Linked DNA regions of Homo sapiens: region 2 is linked to region 1. Evidence: promoter capture Hi-C in 16 types of primary human blood cells and fetal thymus (Javierre and others, 2016). All regions are on one chromosome and are shown on one strand. The core of a region is centred on a gene start or on the middle of the fragment in contact, and the rest is flanking DNA. Distances in the headings are between cores, read along the strand shown. Region 1 holds the start of ACKR5 (atypical chemokine receptor 5). Region 2 overlaps RBMS2 (RNA binding motif single stranded interacting protein 2).

Evidence for each region. The method cuts DNA at HindIII sites, captures the fragments that hold promoters and counts their contacts. A CHiCAGO score of 5 or more calls a contact.
Region 2: a fragment that was not itself captured here is called in contact with the fragment with the promoter of ACKR5 in region 1 in 1 of 17 cell types (total B cells); the score reaches 5.2 in total B cells.

The regions. Positions count from the first base shown.
Region 1 is chr12:56,992,815-56,996,143 of GRCh38, reverse strand. ACKR5 (atypical chemokine receptor 5) reads right to left here and starts at 1,652. Exons shown (of 2, transcript NM_007264.4): 1 at 1,496-1,652; 2 at 1-950. The coding sequence starts at 934. LOC124902945 (a long non-coding RNA gene) reads left to right here and starts at 750. Exons shown (of 4, transcript XR_007063333.1): 1 at 750-875; 2 at 2,590-2,755. The HindIII fragment of the contact is 5,398 bases long and covers 1-2,377 here.
Region 2 is chr12:56,575,640-56,578,906 of GRCh38, reverse strand. The region is part of intron 5 of RBMS2 (RNA binding motif single stranded interacting protein 2); the gene reads right to left. Among named protein-coding and RNA genes, the nearest start is that of BAZ2A, 53 kb to the left of the region's middle. The HindIII fragment of the contact is 8,053 bases long and covers 1-3,267 here.

The DNA of each region.
Region 1 (3,329 bases), core at 403-2,902:
GCAGCATGGAGAAGCAGTCAATGACATCATAGAAGAAGTAGAGCAGGTGGACCAGGTGGCAGTGGAGGGAGATGTGGGTCCCATGCAGTGTGAGCAGCAGCAGGGTCACATGATAGGGCAGCCAGCACATGACAAAGACGGCCACGTAGGCGCACAGCAGCAGGCAGTGGCGCCGGCTCTTGGGTTGTCCTGGCTGCCGCAGCCGGCAGGCTGTCAGCACATTGAAGACTGTGATGAGAGGGAAGGGCAGCAGGAAGCCCAGGATGGTGGTGGACAGGGCCACCGCCAGGGCCCAGGTGCTGTACGTTTCAAAAGGTGCCATGAAGAGGCACATGGGCTCAGGGCCCTCCACCAGCTGGATGTGGACCACCTCAGGCAGCGGGATGATGGCCGAGAGGACCCAGATGCCTGCACACATGGCCCGCCGCACTCGGTGCTGGTAACGCTGCCAGGAGGGGGAGGCGCTGGTGAGGGTGACATAGCGGTCGACACTGAGGCACACCAGGAAGAAGATGCTGCTATACATGTTGACAAAGTAGAAGTAGTGAGTGAAGCGGCAGGAGAAGCTGCCCCAGAGCCAGGTGTAGTCCAGCGTGACCTCCAGCATCCACACGGGCAGAGACAGGACAATGCCCAGGTCCGCGATGGCCATGTTGAGGATGTAGAGGTTCATCAGCCCTGCCCGGCCTGAGCCGCGCCAGTTGACGCATATCACCAGGAGGTTCTCCACCAGCCCAACCACAAACATGGCCAGGTAGAGGGCAAAGAGGACCACGCGCTTGGTGCTCTGGCTGAGCTCCACGTGGCACTCAGACAAAGTGTGGTTGAAGAGGTCAAGCAGCTCGGTCCAGTTGTGGATCTCTCCAAGGTCACTGGTAGGCACTGCGGTGACCCCCTCCGAGGGGCCAGGCCCCCAGCTGGGTTTCACTGACATTGGGACCAGCACACGCCTATTGGGATGAAGGGAGGGTTGGAAGGGAAAGCAGACCTCGAGAGCCTTGTGTCCTCAAGGTAGAGGCCAGAGGGAGTCGGGGGCTTTGGGGAAAGATTCTGGGGCTAAGGCAAGAAAGGGAAGTTTAGCTTTCAAACTGTGAATAAATAATACACAACTCACTTGCTAGCTCTGACCCAAGAGCAGAGATACTTTCTTAAGGGGTTTCAGCTGGAAGAGGCCAGGACTGTTGGTGTCCACCAACATTTCTCCCCACCCCCAGCCAGTTCCCCCTCAACAACCCCCTCAATCCCCCCACACCCACCATTCCTAGGTGGTCTCCAACCTCCACCTCTCTCCTGGCACTTCATTCCTCAGCCCTTTTGCACAGATCTTTATTGCTCTTTTTCTGTCTTGTTATTTGGACCGTGAGTGTGGAACACACACACACACACGCACACCACACAATCTGATTCATCCCTAGGAAAACCTGTGGATCATGCAGGATAGCCAGTTGTCTCCAAGCCCTGATTCCCATCTTCCCTGGGAGAGGGCGACACTCACCTGAGTTTCCCTTGGGAGCCCCTCGGTCCTGGAGGGAGGGCCGGCAGGTCCAGGCTATGGGGAGCTGTGAGGAGGCTGGGGGGCCCTTGGCTGTGGGGCTGGCTTCCCTGCTGGCTTCACGGCCGCCCTTCTCATCCGGGAAGTAGCTGTCACTGCTGAGGCTCTGTAGGGAGGGATGGGGTTTTTCCTGCATTCCCCCAATCCGGTTACAGGGGATGTCCCAGCAAAAGACCCGGTGTGCCAGTGGCGGGGAGGTCATACTGCCAGCATTAAAATCCCAGCTCCTCCCTCACCCGCTGAATGAATTTACCTCTTTCCTCAGCCTCAGTGCTCTCCTCTGCAAAGTGGGGTCTATTATCTACTAAAAGGGATGCTTTGAGAATTAAAGGAGCTGTTGAGGGAGGGAAAGTGCTTAGCTCAGGTGGGGCCTGTGGCAAATGCTTTACGTATGTATGTATTTTCCTCTCCCTAAGTCAGCTTGGAATCCCTCTCTCCCCTGTCTTGATTCCTACTAGAGTGAAATTGGATGTGGGGGTATAGGGGAGGGTCAAAATAAATCTGAACATCAGTTGGGCTTTTAATAACTCTGGCCCACCCCTGCCATTCTCCCCAGCCCCTCACAGGGCTGTGAGCTCCCTGCCTTCATCTTGTGATTGGAGGTGAGAATCTGGGAAAGAAAAGATTGAATGGCTGGGCATGGTGGCTCACGCCTGTAATTCCAGCATTTTGAGAGGCTGAGGCAGGAGAATCGCTTGAGCCCAGGAGGCGGAGGTTGCAGTGAGCTGAGATCAGGTCACTGCACTCCAGCCTAGGTGACAGAGTTAATAAAAAAAAATAAAAATAAGATTGAATGCGGGGTGTCAAGGGGGCTTTGTCAAAGCTTCAGGGAGATTCCTGAGTAGGGAGGGAGAGAGAGAATGGCGCCCTCCCCCTGTGGCTCTATACTTCTCTGCGTGAAGGGTGTGGTGGGTGGCTGGCAGGGGATGAGCAGGGGATGGGGCGTGGGGTAGGGAGAGCAGACTTCTCTCTCCCGCCAAGCTAGAGGGTAAGGGACTCTAAGCCACGTGTTATGGGTAAACATTTTGTGTCAGCAGAGCTTCCTGCCCTTCAGAGCGCTTTCACCTCACTTCATCTCGTTGGATTCTGGAGATACCCCTGTGGGGAGGATGGATTTCTTCACCCTCTTTGAGGCCCAGAGAAGTTGTCTGTTACACAAGCCACACTTGGCAGATGGCAGAGTGGCCTAGGCCTGAGCCAAAGGTGTGTCGGCTGGACGGGATTGAGTATATATTAAGTCGAGGTGAAATTCCCATAGCATAAAATTAACCATTTTAAAATGTGTGATTTAATGGCATTTAGACATGCACATTGTGCAAACACCACCTCTGTCTACGTGCTAAACATCTTCATTACCCGCAAAGAAAACCCCATAACCATTAAGCAGTCAATCCTATTCCCCCCACCACCAACCTTCTGCTTCCTGTCCCTGTGGATTTACCTATTCTGGATACTTAATAGAAAGGGAACCATATCATATGTGACATTCAGTGTCTGTGTTTTTTTTTTTCCACTTAGCATGTTTTCAAGGTTCATTCACTTTGGAGCATGCATCCGTACTTCATTTCCTTTCATGGCTGAGTAATATTCCCATATATATATATATATATATACACACACACACACCACATTTTCTTTATCCACTCAAAGAGAACATTTTTTAAAAGTTTGCTCACTGATTCTTTTATTATGGTAAAATATATGTAAGGTTTACCACGTTAACCATTTTTAAGTGTACAATTCAGTGGCGCTAAGTGCATTTACACTGCTGTGCAAC
Region 2 (3,267 bases), core at 86-2,585, 420 kb after region 1:
CTGCAACCTCCTCCTCCCAGGTTCAAACGATTCTCCTACCTCAGCTCCCAAGTAGCTGGGATTACAGGCATGAGCCACCACGCCTGGCTAATTGCTGTATTTTCAGTAGAGATGGGGTTTCACCATGTTGTCCAGGCTGGTCTCAAACTTCTGGCCTCAAGTGATCTGCCTGCTTCGGCCTCCCAAAGTGCTGGGATTACAGGCACAAGCCACCACACCTGGCCAGAAGAAATTTTTAAAATTCCTGTTTTAACAAAATCCTTTCCACTCCCATCTACTTATTTATGAGAACAAGGTTTCTCAGCATGAAAACAAAAAGCAGAAACAGAACTGGCATTAAACTCTCCCTTGTTACAGTAATAAACAATATTAATTTATGCTTACCTGTCCTAATTAGAAAAATCTAAACAAAACAAAACCTATCCATGTCATAGATGCTTCTGTATATGCAATAAAATTTACTTCTATAAAATAATTTGGCCAGGTGTGGTGGCTCACCTCTGTAATCCCAGCACTTTGGGAAACCGAGTTGGGTGGATCACTTGAGGCCAGGAGTTCGAGACCAGCCTGGCCAACTGGGTGAAACCCTGTCTCTACTAAAAATACAAAAATTAGCTGGGCATGGTGGCATGCACCTGTAATCCCAGCTACTTGGGAGGCTGAGGCACAAGAATCGCCTGAACCCGGGAGGCGGAGTTTACAGTGAGCTGAGATCACACCACTGTAATCCAGCCTGGGCAACAGAGCGAGACGCCATCTCAAAAAAATAAAAAAAAAAATTTGGGCCAGGAACAGTAGCTCATGCCTCAATCCCAGCACTTTGAAAGGCTGAGGCAGGAGGACTGCTTGAGCCCAGGTGTTCAAGACCAGCTTGGGCAAAACAGTGAGACTCCAACTCTACAAAAAAATTAAAAAATTAGGCCGGGTCCAGTGGCTCACGCCTGTAATCCTAGCACTCTGGGAGGCCGAGGCAGGTGGATTGCCTGAGCTCAGCTCAGGAGTTCGAGACCAGCCTGGGCAACATGGTAAAACCCAGTCTCTACTAAAATACAAAAAATTAGCCGGGCGTGGCGGCATGTGCCAGTGGTCCCGGCTACTTGGGAGGTTGAGGCAGGAGAATTGCTTGAACCTGGGAGGCAGAGGTTGCCATGAGCCAAGATTGCAGCACTGCACTCCAGCCTGGGCGACAGAGTGAAACTCCATCTCCAAAAAAAAAATTAAAAAATTAAAAAATTTGCTGCCCCCACCATCCCCCCACCAAAAAATTAGCTGGGCATGGTGGTGGGGGCCTGTAGTTCCAGATACTCAGGAAGCGGAGGTGTAAGGATCACTTGAGCCCAGAAGGTCAAGGCTGTAGTGAGCCAGGATCGTACCAATGCACTCTAGCCTGCACAACCGAGTGAGACCCTGTCTCAATAATAATAATAATAATAATAATAATAATAATAATTTTGTATGAACATTTTATTTTATTTTATTTATTATTATTATTTTTGAGATGGAGTTTCGCTCTTGTTGTCCAGGCTGGAGTGCAGTGGTGTGATCTCGGCTCACTGCAACTTCTGCCTCCTGGGTTCAAATGATTCTCCTGCCTCAGACTCCTGAGTAGCTGGGATTACAGTAGCTGGGATTACAGGCGCTCGCCCAGCTAATTTTTGTACTTTTAGTAGAGACAGGGTTTCACCGAGTTGACCAGGCTGGTCTCGAACTCCTGACCTCAGGTGATCCACCCACCTTGGCCTCCCAAAGTGCTGGGCTTACGGGCGTGAGCCACTGCCCCTGGCCTTGTATGAACATTTTAATATATTTATGTTGTCTGGGCAATTGTGAGCTCATCATTGTAAAGATAACTTTTTTTTTTTTTTTTTTTTGGAATCTCACTCTGTCATCCAGGCTGGAGTGCAGTGGTGTGATCTCAGCTCACTGCAACCTCCATCTCCCAGGTTCAAGTGATTCTCTCACCTCAGCCTCCTAAGTAGCTGGAATTACAGGTGCCCACCAACACACCTAGCTAATTTTTATATTTTTAGTAGAGACGGGGTTTCACCATTTTGGCCAGGCTGGTCTCAAATTCCTGACCTCAAGTGATCCGCCCACCTCAGCCTCCCAAAGTGCTGGTATTATACAGGCATGAGCCACCATGCCTGGCCAAAATTTTTAATTTATATACATATTTTTGTTGCAGAGAAGTATGACAAGATGATCCATAAAGACTTTATAAAAATATTTTACACTAGAATACAATTCTATAGAGAAATGGAATAGAAACAAAATTCTATAGAGAAATGGAATAGAAACACAAGTTCAAGAAGAAAAAAGGAATATAAGAATGATATGAGATTTATGACTCTAGTAGTCCCCCCTTATCCTCAGGAGATACATTCCAAGTCCCCTAGTGGATGCCTGAAACCATGGATAGTACCAAACCCTAGATATACTACGCTTTTTCATCTGATGGCCACAATGGCTACTAAGTGACTAATGGGTGGGTAGCATTTGCAGTGTGGATACTTTGGACAAAGGGTGGGATGGAGCGGACAACATGAAATTTTTTATTTATTTATGTTTTTGAGACAGAATCTCACTGTGTCACTCATGTTAGAGTGCAGTGGTGTGATCTTGGCTCACTGCAACCTCTGCCTCTCAGGTTCAAGCAATTCTACTGCCTCAGCCTCCCGAGTACCTGGGACTACAGGTGCACACTACCACTCCTGGCTAGCTTTGTATTTTTAATGGAGATGGGGTTTTACCATGTTGACCAGGCTGGTCTTGACCTCCTGATCTCAAGTGATCTGCTCGCCTCGGCCTCCCAAAGTGTTGGGATTACAGACATGAGCCACCGAGCCCAGCCTGAAATTTAATCATGCTACTCAGAATGGCATACAATTTAAAAACTTTGTAACTATTTCTGGACTTTTCCATTTAATATTTTCAGTTGACTGTGGGTAACTGAAACCATAGAAAGTAAAACCATAAATAAGGGGGGACCACTCTATTTTTTTTTTTTTCTTTGAGATGGAGTTTTGCTCTTGTCGCCCAGGCTGGAGTGCAATGGCGTGATCTCAGCTCACCGTAACCTCCGCCTCCCAGGTTCAAATGATTCTCCTGCCTCAGCCTCCTGAGTAGCTGGGATTACAGGCATGCGCCACCATGCCCAGCTAATTTTGCATTTTTAGTAGAGACGGGGTTTTTCCACGTTGGTCAGGCTGGTCTCGAACTCCCGACCTCAGGTGATCTGCCTGCCTTGGCTTCCCAAAGTGTTGGGAT